Linked DNA regions of Homo sapiens: regions 1, 3 and 4 are each linked to region 2. Evidence: promoter capture Hi-C in human tissues and cell types (Jung and others, 2019). All regions are on one chromosome and are shown on one strand. Each heading gives the region's core, a stretch centred on a gene start or on the middle of the fragment in contact. The rest is flanking DNA. Distances are from core to core; before and after follow the strand shown.

Region 1 (2,700 bases), core at 131-2,630, 220 kb after region 2:
TCAGCCTCCCAGGCAGCTGGGATTACAGGCACCCACCACCACGCCCCACTAATTTTTTTGTATTTTTGTAGAAATTGGGTTTCACCACATTTGCCAGGCTGGTCTCAAACTCCTGACCTCAGGTGATCTGCTGGCCTCAGCCTCCCAAACTGCTGGGATTACAGGTGCAAGCCAAGGCGCCTGGCCTTTCCTAGGAATTTTAAAACAAAATATGCAAAATATATTCATTTACGAACTCTACATTTGTCATTGCACTCCAGCCTGGGCAACAAGAACGAAACTCCGTCTCAAAAATAAATAAATAAATAAATAAAAATAAAAAATAAAATTCCTATGAAATATTGTCTTCTGAAAATTTGAGCATTTTTGCCCACTGGGTTGATGGAGACAGAAAGGGTTCTAGGCCAGAATGTTCATATTTGGAAGACTTTCAAATTATAACTGTTGTCACATGTTTGCAGTTTATTCAAGACTGCTGTTACATAGTGGAAAAATTAACTCCTTACTTCAAATGTCTAGTCTACCTAGATGTTTGGAAGTGTCCCACGTATATTAAATATAGAGGTAGTGAAATATCACTGTAAATATCTTTTTGTTAAAATTTATAGGAAACACTGCCTTTTGGAAATTGAATTGTTTAACCACCTTTGTGAGCAGTGTAGTACTGTGTATAGTTGTTCGATAGTTTAGAGGAGGTGGGAGGGAAGAAATTGCAAAAGGTAATAGGCCAGTGTGTTCATAATTGGACATTTTCAGACACTATTTTTCTGTATGTTTTGTGCATTTTGTTTTGCTCTGTATATAGCATATACAATGGGCAAATGCATCCTGATTTTGCAACATCTAATTGCTGGATGTTAAAGAGGTTGCCAGTGTGTGATAAAGTACTTAGTAAATTTAGCATATTTTGTATACTTTGTGTTGAAATTCATAGGAAACTTGTCTTCTGTGGATGACTTTTGGATAGGAGTTTGTTCAACCATCTCTAAGCATTACACATGCGTGTACTTGTCCACTGGATTGAAAGCAGAGAGAAGGAAGTGAGGAGGGAATGGTTCAAGGCCAAAATGGTCATATTTAGGAGATACCTCAGATTATAACCACGGTTACATGTGTGGAATTTTATTTAACAGTGCGTGTACATGGTGGACAAGTTAGATGAAATATCTAGTATTTCTAGATATTTGGAAGTGCTTCATGTATTTAAAAGTAGTAGTAGCATAACACTGTTTTTTGTTTTTGTTTTTGTTGAGACGGAGTCTCACTCTGTCACCCAGGCTGGAGTGCAGTGGCACGATATCGGCTCATTGCAACCTCCGCCTCCTGGGCTCAAGCAATTCTCCTGCCTCAGCCTCCTGAGTAGCTGGGATTACAGGGGTGCACCACCATGCCCAGCTACCTTTTGTGTTTTTAGTAGAGACAGGGTTTCACCATGTTGGCTAGGCTGGTCTTGAACTCCTGACCTCAGATGATCCACCCACCTAGGCCTCCCAAAGTGCTTGGATTACAGGCATGAGCCACTGCGCCCGGCAAATAATACTTTTTGTAAATAACTTTTAAAAACTGATGGGGCTGGGGCCAGGCACGGTGGCTCACGCCTGTAATCCCAGCACTTTGGGAGTCCAAGGCAGGTGGATCACGAGGTCAGGAGATCGAGACCATCCTGGCTAACATGGTGAAACCCTGTCTCTACTAAAAATACAAAAAATTAGCCAGGCGTGGTGGTGGGTGCCTGTAGTCCCAGCTACTTGGGAGGCTGAGGCAGGAGAATGGCGTGAACCTGGGAGACGGAGCTTGCAGTGAGCTGAGACTGCGCCACTGCACTCCAGCCTGGGTGACAGAGCGAGACTGTGTCTCAAAAAAAAAAACAAAAAAAAAAAAACAACTGATGGGGCACAGTGGCTCACGCCTGTAATCCCAACACTTTGGGTGGCTGAGGCTGGTGAATCATTTGAGGTCAGGAGTTCCAGAACAGCCTGGCCAACATGGCGAAACCCTGTCTCTACTGAAAACACAAAAAGTAGCTAGGCTTGGTGGTGAGTGCCTGTAATCCCTCAGCTACTCAGGAGGCTGAGGCACGAGAACCGCTTGAACCCAGGAGGCAGAGACTGCAGTGAGCTGAGATCGTGCCACTGCACTCCAACCTAGGTGACAGAGTGAGACTCTGTCTCAAAAAATAAAAAAAGAAAAAAAACTGGTGGGAAATACTCTTTGGAAGTAGAATTGTTGAACCACCTCTGTGAACAGTGTACTCTCTGTACTTGTTCATTGGGTTGACGGAGGTGGGTGAGATGAAATTTCCTGATTAGGACATTGTACTACAGCTATGCAACATGTTACCATTGAGAGAAAATGGCTGTATAATTTCCTACATGTGAATATGCAATGACCTCAAAATAAATTTTTGTTAAAAAGTACACCACTGGCCAGGTGCGGTGGCTCACGCCTGTAATCCCAGCACTTTGGGAGGCCGAGGTGGGTGGATCAGGAGGTCAGGAGATGGAGACCATCCTGGCTAACATGGTGAAACCCCGTCTCTACTAAAAATACAAAAAATTTGCCGGGTGTGGTGGCGGGAGCCTGTAGTTCCAGCTACTCGGGAGGCTGAGGCAGGAGACTGGCGTGAACCCAGGAGGCAGAGCTTGCAGTGAGCGGAGATCGCACCACTGCACTCCAGCCTGGGCAAGAGAGCGAGACTCC
Region 2 (2,700 bases), core at 25-2,524:
TTTTTTGAGACGGAGTCTCTCTCTGTCGCCGGCCCAGACTGGAGTGCAGTGACGTGATCTCAGTTCACTGCAACCTCCGCCTCATGGGTTCAAGCGATTCTCCTGCCTCAGCCTCTCGAGTAGCTGAGATTACAGGCATGTGACACCACGTCTGGCTAATTTTTGTATTTTTAGTAGAGAAGGGGTTTCGCCATCTTGGCCAGGCTGGTCTGGAACTCCTGTACATGTCTAACTTTCTTTATGGCCCAAGACATGGCCTTCTTGCCCAGATAACGCACTTAATTCACAGACTTCCTGCTCACCATCAAACGCCTCAATTTATCAAACACCGGGGCTGACAGAGGAATGCAAGTTAAGCTCCCTGCTGCCTTGGCACTCTGCTGCCTTGGCACTATCAATCAGCCCAAGTTCCATTCTATAAAATCACCCACAAGCCTCTGCTTCTCTCCTGCAGGCTTCCCATGGCCTCCCTTGCGATGGATTTTGCTTCTTTCGCTAATAACTTTACCTACAACTGTCTTAGTAAAAATTATTTTACCCCGGCGTTACCGGCCCAGATAGCAGTCGTTCCCCTGTGACGGAGAGGAAGTCAGCTTTATGAAATGCAGGGCAAAATCTGGAAATCTAGGGATTTACTGCCAGCCCCAGGAGTTAGGGTGAGGGGACAAGATAAGCATTAGACATCTGCCTTCCCAAACCTTTGAAGACTCAGAGGGACACCGGTCCCCTTTAGGAAGAAAACAGAGACTGAGGATCCCACAGATCACAGCTCCTCACAGGCACGAACCCCACACACGAGTGGGGATTCCCTCCATGACCCTTCCGTGACCCTCCCCCAATCCTGGGGAGATGGGGGGCTGCGGGCGAGGAGCTGCCCAGACAGGGCTCCGAGGCCGGGACCGCAGTTGCCGCGCAGGGACCGGATAGGACGCCCGGGGTCCCGGCTGCCAGCTCAGCCTCACTCTGTGGCTGAGGGGACCGAGGGTCGAGCTGCGCCAGGGGGACTCGGGTCCCAGACCCCGGAGCTGACGGCGGGGGAGGCCCACGTTCGCCGCGGCCGGTTCTGGACGGTTCCAACCAGCTCTTTCCCACTTTTGGGACGCCTGACCCTGCACACGCACCATTTCCCGGCTTCCGGGATGTTCCAGGGTCCTCCCTCTGCCTCCCGCTGCCAGTGCGGGTCCCACTGTGACAGAGGCTGCCACAGACGTTCCAGGGCGTCTCTCAGCGACTGAGGCTACACAGACGTTCCAGGGCGTCTCTCAGCGAGCGACTGAGTCTAGAGCTGAGCGCAGGGGCGTGAAGACGCCGCGGGCTCTTTGAACCTGGCACCCTACTGCCAGCCGTGCGCCTGATTGACAGTTCTCACGACCCCGCCCCATAGCTCTGATTGGATAGGGCTCCAGGTCCCGCCCCCTGGGCACTGAGTGACAGAAGAAGCGATCACACAGTGCTGAGTCGAGCGGGATGAACGAGTTCCAGGCACAGCCCTTGACAGGGCAGGCTTCCTCCCTGTGCTGTCCTGATCCCTCCCAGGGAACATTTGCATTTATGCAGAATTACCTGCCCGTACTCAGCAGGCCCTTACTGCCTTTTCCTCCTGGAGAAGGAGTCACAAGTGTTTTGCAGGGAATCCCAGACTCACAGTCCAGTGGAGCCATTCCCCTGGCCTCAGAGCAGAGGGGAGCCCAAGGCCACACAGGCCACACTGCAGCAGGAGGGTGGCCTGATGTCCACCGGGCATCAGGATTTGAGGATGAGACTCTTGGCGGCAAGGTTAAGCCTTCCTCTCTCACCTTGCCTCTCAATCTGCTCATTTTCAGCCAAGGAAATAAAAACAAGTCAAGAACGGTATTAAAATATCAAATGTGTGGAAGAACTGAAATCACACGGCAGCAATAAATGAATGAATGAATCAAAACAAAAATACAACAGGAAAAAAAAAGCAAAAACTTGAACTAGTGCAGATAAGCAGCCTGCTGCCCTCATACTTCAGCAAACGTCCCATTCAGGAGGCTAAACATATGCCCAAACTTGGCAGCCACTCTTAACTGTTGAAATGGAACCCCAGAGTGAACCAAAACCTGGTGATGAGACTGGGACACTGAAGGATTTGACTCTGGGAGCTCAACATACTTCCCTGTGCCCTCTGCAGAGTGTGGAAATGCCCCCACCGTCAAGATGTGCATTTTCACCAACAGGAAAGTTTCATGTAAAGTTAGTTTAAGGGCCCGGGGCGGTGGCTCACGCCTGCAATCCCAGCACTTTGGGAGGCCGAGGCGGGTGAATCACCTGAGGTCACCAGTTGGAGACCAGCCTGGCCAACATGGTGAAACCACATCTCTACTAAAAATACAAAAATTAGCTGGGCATGGTGGCGGGCACCTGTAATCCCAGCTACTCGGGAGGCTGAGGCAGGAGAATCACTTGAACCTGGGAGGCGGAGGTTGCAGTGAGCCGAGATCGTGCCACGGCATTCCAGCCTGGGTGACAGAGTGAGACCTGGTCTCAAAAAAAAAAAAAAAAAAAAAAAAAAGGTTACTTTAAGGTACTGACCTACATAAACTGTCAAATTCATAAACCCTTTACCCAGATTTTCCTAACACATAAATGGTAAATTCTGATTCTATGTGCAGCTTCGTGCTACGTGGAGGCGTGCGCAGGCTGCTGAGGAAGCACCAAAGGGGGCTCCATTTCTCT
Region 3 (2,700 bases), core at 25-2,524, 150 kb before region 2:
CTCTGCCTTCCAGGTTCAAGCTATTCTCCTGCCTCACCCTCCTGAGTAGCTGGGATTACAGGCACAGGTCACCATGCCTGGTTAATTTTTGTATTTTTTATAGAGACGGGGTTCCTCCATGTTGGCCAGGGTGGTCTCGATCTCCTGACCTCAGGTGGTCTGCCAGCCTCGGCCTCCCAAAGTGCTGGGATTACAGGCGTGAGCCACCACACCCAGCCCAAAAGAATTTCTTCTAGGACGTGTGCTTGCTTCAGGTGTATTGATTGCTATTCAAAGCAAGAAGCTTCTCTGGATTGTATACTATGAAGAAGCAAGGTTATTTCTGGCCTTGGTTATTATGATAGTTCTTACCCAGAAGTAAAAAAGATGGAGTGGCGCTAAGTTTATTACCTAAACACTGAAATATTTCTTATGATGAATTAGACATGGCTTCCCATAAGATACCTCAGTTGAAATATATAAATTCTAACTATTGATAATTTTTTTTTTTTGAGACAGAGTCTGGCTCTGTTGCCCGGGCTGGAGTGCAGTGGCGCAGTCTCGGCTCACTGCAAGCTCCACCTCCCGGGTTCACACCATTCTCCTGCCTCAGCCTCCCGAGTAGCTGGGACTACAGGTGCCCGCCACCACACCCGGCTAATTTTTTTGTAATTTTAGTAGAGACGGGGTTTCACCATGTTAGCCAGGATGGTCTTGATCTCCTGACCTCGTGATCTGCCTGCCTCGGTCTCCCAAAGTGCTGGGATTACAGGCGTGAGCCACCGCCCCCGGCCAACTACTGATAATTTTTAAAAGTCTCCCTTATTAGTCAAATTAGGCTAATGCCTCTAGGAAAGTTGTCAGAATATAAACCTAGCAAGGGACAGAGACATGATCACTATTCTAATCAAGCCTCTCTTGCTCAGATAATATGCTCTTGATGCTAATTTTTCAATATGCCTCATATGCCAGAACTGTAGACTCAGAACATCCAGAATTAAGCACAAATGATGCAGGCACTGAAGGCTCTGATATGGGAACACAAAGTGAATAAATTCTTGAAATCCTGGTGCTTATATTTTTGTGAGAAAGGAGAGGGGTTGAAAAAATGGTAAGACTGGTTTATAAGAAGGAAATAAGCACTTTGAAGGAAAGTAAATGATGGTGTGAGATAATACGGAAGCTGAGGGTGTGTGTATATGTTCTCTGTGGAGGGTGGCAACATCAGTGAGTGAAGAAATGTCACCATCGGTCATTTATATTTCCACCTCTTATACATCTTCAGCACCATTTCAGGAACTGCTTAAGTGTGGATGTAGATAGTGCATAGCAATATAGACAGTCCTGCCTTTTTGAGGTTAACAATAATGATTCCCCGTAAAGATATAGGTATGGCTTATTGTCATTTTTGCATTGGTTAAAAATTTTAATGCATGTAATATGTGATGCTGACTTTGGACATGGGTATCTGGAACCTGGAGGAAGGCACACCACTGCATACGGTGTGTGCTAGAACCACGTTGGATCCCTGTTGAAACATCTTAAGTGTTCTGCCCCTTAAGCCACAGGGGCGGAGCCTGAAGTTATATCCAGTTAGGGGTGCCAGGATGGCATCCTACTTATTGTCCAATCAGGCGCGCCTCAGAGCCCTGTCTGCCCCCAACCTCACCCCACCCTGTACGATCTTGTGGTGAATTTTCTTTTCTTGAGCTGGCTGCATTACCTTTCTTCTGGCTCCTGGCTCCACTGCCCTGGCTCTGTGCTCTGTGCTGGCCGTGGTAGCCGGAGGGAGGACCCAGGAGACCCCGAAGATGGGAAATGGCGAGTGTGGGAAATGGCAAGTGTGCAGGGGCCTGGGGTCCGACATGGCTGGAGGGGCCCAGGCCTCCTCGCCATCAGCATCCGATTCTGTTTCATCTGAGTTGCTCAAATGTGTGGGAAGCAGGGTATCAAATCCACCCCCGGCCTAACTCTCCTTGATCTGGCAGCAAACTGCTAAATTGTAGGTATAATTTCTGCAGTCCCCAACACCAGCTTCTGTTCTCGGATGCACAGTGTTATCAACTATTTGGTTTTTTTGTTTTGTTTTGTTTTTGCATTTGTTTTTGTTTTTTTTTTTTTGGTGGAGTCTCATTCTGTCGCCGAGGCTGGAATGCAGTGGCGCAATCTCCACTCACTGCAATGTCCGCCTCCTGGATTCAAGCGATTTTCCTGCCTCAGCCTCCTGAGTAGGTGGGATTACAGGCACCTGCCACCACGCCCAGCTAATTTTTTTTGGGGGGGGACAGAGCCTCACTGAGTCGCCCAGGCTGGAGGGCAGTGGTGTGATCTTGGCTCACTGCAAGCTCCGCCTCCCGGGTTCACACCATTCTCCTGCTTCAGCCTCCCGAGTAGCTGGGACTACAGGCACCCACCACTACGCCCGGCTAATTTCTTTGTATTTTTAGTAGAGACAGGGTTTCACCATATTAGCCAGGATGGTTTCGATCTCCTGACCTCGCAATCCGCCTGTCTCTGCCTCCCAAAGTACTGGGATTACAGGTGTGAGCCACCGCGCCCGGCCATTTTTTTGTGTTTTTTAGTAGAGATGGGGTCTCACCGTGTTGGCCAGGCTGGTCTCGAACTCCTGACCTCAAGTGATCTACCCACCTTGGCCTCCCAAAGTGCTGGAATTACAGGTGTGAGTCACCATGCCCAGCTGACTATTTGTCCTTCCTTCTC
Region 4 (2,700 bases), core at 23-2,522, 210 kb before region 2:
TTGCCCAGGCTGGAGTGCAGTGTTGCAGTCTCAGCTCACTGCAACCTCTGCCTCCCAGGTTCAAGTGATTCTCCTGCTTCAGCCTCCCGAGTAGCTGGGATTACAGGTGGCCACCACCCCAGCCGGCTAATTTTTGTACTTTTAGTAGAGACAGGGTTTCACTATGTTGGCCAGGCTGGTCTAGAACTCCTGACCTCAAGTGATCCGCCCGCCTTGGCCTCCCAAAGTGCTGGGATTATAGGCATAAGCCGCCGTGCCTGGCCCCTGAAATACTTTTTAATATAGGGTGTAAGCCAGGCGCGGTGGCTCACATCTGTAATACAAATACAAATACAAAAATTAACCAGGTGTGGTAGTGCGTGCCTGTAATCCCAGCTACTCGGGAGGCTGAGGCAGGAGAATTGCTTGAACCCAGCAGGTGAAGGTTGCAGTGAGCTGAGATCGCACCACTGCACTCAAGCCTGGCGACAGAGCGAGACTCTGTCTCAAAAAAAAAAAAAGTGTGTAACAGTTGGTGAAAAGGTTCAAAAAAAAAAAGAAAAGAAAAGAAAGGTGACACTTAAATTTACATGACTTTTTTTTTTTTTTTTTTGAGACAGCGTCTTGCTCTGTCACCCAGGCTGGAGTGCAGTGGCACAATCTTGGCTCAATGCAAGCTCTGCCTCCCAGGTTCATGCCATTCTCCTGCCTCAGCCTCCTGAGTAGCTGGGACTACGGGCGCCCGCCACCACGCCCGGCTAATTTTTTGTATTTTTAGTAGAGACAGGGTTTCACCATGTTAGCCAGGATGGTCTCGATCTCCTGACCTCGTGATCTGTCTACCTTGGCCTCCCAAAGTGCTGGGATAACAGGCGTGAGCCACCGCACCCAGCCTACATGACTTAACTTTTTACCTTGTTAAACAGAGAGCAATCAACCCTGTGAACGTTATGTTCCAGATTCTGACAAGTGTGTTGAAAAAATTCTACACACTAAATGAAATAGGAGTAATGGGTGAGAGAGTGTGACCTTGAGTTTCAAGTTGGGGTAAGGGGGGCGGAAAAGAAGACAGTGTCTTGAGGTGGTGACATCTGTAGTGAGATCTGAAATGACGTGTTAGTATATGAAGTCAGGAAAGAGGATTCTGGGAAGATGGCAGAATAGGAAGTATCAAGCAGAAACTACAGGAAGCCATTTTTGTGAACTGAGTTCCTCTGCTGGGCCCTCAGAAACCAGACCTACCCCAGCGATTAGGAAATTACACCTAGGCAATCGTCATTGCCCCACACGCTACAAAGAACGTTCAGTAGACAATGGCTTGAGAAATGCGCCCAGTCCAATCTTTGGGTAAGCCAGGTGCAGAGATGTACAAAAAGACTGTCCTTGGCAAAGTTCTATGGTCACATGATGTTTGAGGCAGTTCTGCATATCATATGAGGGCCTTATTGGAGTTCTTGTGTATCTCTGCCAAGAGAGTACTGCACAGCAGAGGTCATTATTGCAACTTCCGTGCCATTTATTTATTTTGAGACAGAGTCTTGCTCTTTTGCCAGGCTGAAGTGCAGTGGCACGATCTCAGCTCACTGCAGTCTCTGCCTCCCGGGTTCAAGGGATTCCTCTGCCTCAGCCTCCTGAGTAGCTGGGACTATAGGAGCCCGCCACCACGCCCGGCTAATTTTTTGTATTTTAGTAGAGACAGGTTTCACCATGTTGGCCAGAATGGTCTCAATCTCCTGACTTCATGATCCGCCCGCCTCGGCCTCCCAAAGTGCCGGGATTACAGGCATGAGCCACTGCACCCAGCCACTTCTGTGCCATTTAATTGTTCACCAGTTGCCACAGGTCTATCTGTGTACACCTGAGTTGCTTGAGTGGTTCTAAACAAATGAATTTAACTTTCATTGTGGTGTTGAATTTTTGTATATACCTTTTATGAATTATTTTGACCGTGGGCTGACCAATATCATGAGTAAAAGATTTAAAAGGTCTAGAGGAGCCAGGCATGTTGGCTCATGCCTATAATCCCAGCACTTTGGGAGGCCGAGGCAGATGGATCGCTTGAGGCCAGGAGTTTAGAGACCAGTCTGGCCAACATGGTGAAACTCCAATTCTACAAAAAACACAAAAATTAACTGGGCATGGTGGTGTTCGCCTGTAGTGCCAGCTACTTGGGAGGTTGTGACGAGACTTGCTTGAACCTGGGAAGCAGAGGTTGCAGTGAGCTGAGATCGTGCCACTGCAATTCAGCCTAGGCAACAGAGCGACACTCTGTCTCAAAAAAAAAAAAAAAAAAGCCATAGGTAGGAAGCAAAATGTAAATAATGAGAAAAATATATATCTTAAGTTCACATTTGAAATATGTAAGAAAATTTGGTGATGCTGCAAATAAACTGAGGATTGTAATTATATAAATTACAAGTTTTTCCTGAGAAAAAACACATTTTCAACCTAAGTACATTGATCTTAAAGGATTTTTCCTTTGCTTTTTGACCTTGCTTTGTGAAAAAGTGCAAAAATAAGACATGAATAGTCAAAATAAGAATTTTTGGGCCAGGCGTGGTGGCTCACACTTATAATCCCAGCACTTTGGGAGGCCGAGGTGGGCGGATCACGAGGCCAGGAGATCGAGACCATCCTGGCTAACATGGTGAAACCCTGTCTCTACTAAAAAAAAAAATACAAAAAAATAGCCAGGCGTGGTGGCGGGCACCTGTAGTCCCA

The links. Contacts are between HindIII fragments. The study calls those that stand out against the background at their distance.
Region 1: a contact is called between a fragment that was not itself captured here and the fragment with the promoter of ZNF563 in region 2, in 1 of the 25 tissues and cell types used here (H1 embryonic stem cells).
Region 3: a fragment that was not itself captured here is called in contact with the fragment with the promoter of ZNF563 in region 2 in 6 of the 25 tissues and cell types used here (dorsolateral prefrontal cortex, heart left ventricle, heart right ventricle and 3 more).
Region 4: a fragment that was not itself captured here is called in contact with the fragment with the promoter of ZNF563 in region 2 in 6 of the 25 tissues and cell types used here (H1 embryonic stem cells, aorta, dorsolateral prefrontal cortex and 3 more).

What each region holds. Positions count from the first base shown.
Region 1 is chr19:12,556,756-12,559,455 of GRCh38, forward strand. No RefSeq gene overlaps it. Among named protein-coding and RNA genes, the nearest start is that of LINC02926, 6.4 kb to the left of the region's middle. The HindIII fragment of the contact is 3,766 bases long and covers 1-2,700 here.
Region 2 is chr19:12,332,359-12,335,058 of GRCh38, forward strand. It overlaps ZNF563 (zinc finger protein 563), which reads right to left and starts at 1,275. Exons shown (of 4, transcript NM_145276.3): 1 at 1,122-1,275. The coding sequence starts at 1,124. RefSeq lists enhancers at 629-738, 969-1,228, 1,331-2,196 and a silencer at 1,369-1,508. The HindIII fragment of the contact is 22,494 bases long and covers 1-2,700 here.
Region 3 is chr19:12,179,393-12,182,092 of GRCh38, forward strand. The region is part of intron 1 of ZNF136 (zinc finger protein 136); the gene reads left to right. Among named protein-coding and RNA genes, the nearest start is that of ZNF136, 18 kb to the left of the region's middle. The HindIII fragment of the contact is 3,876 bases long and covers 1-2,700 here.
Region 4 is chr19:12,127,092-12,129,791 of GRCh38, forward strand. No RefSeq gene overlaps it. Among named protein-coding and RNA genes, the nearest start is that of ZNF20, 12 kb to the right of the region's middle. The HindIII fragment of the contact is 9,523 bases long and covers 1-2,700 here.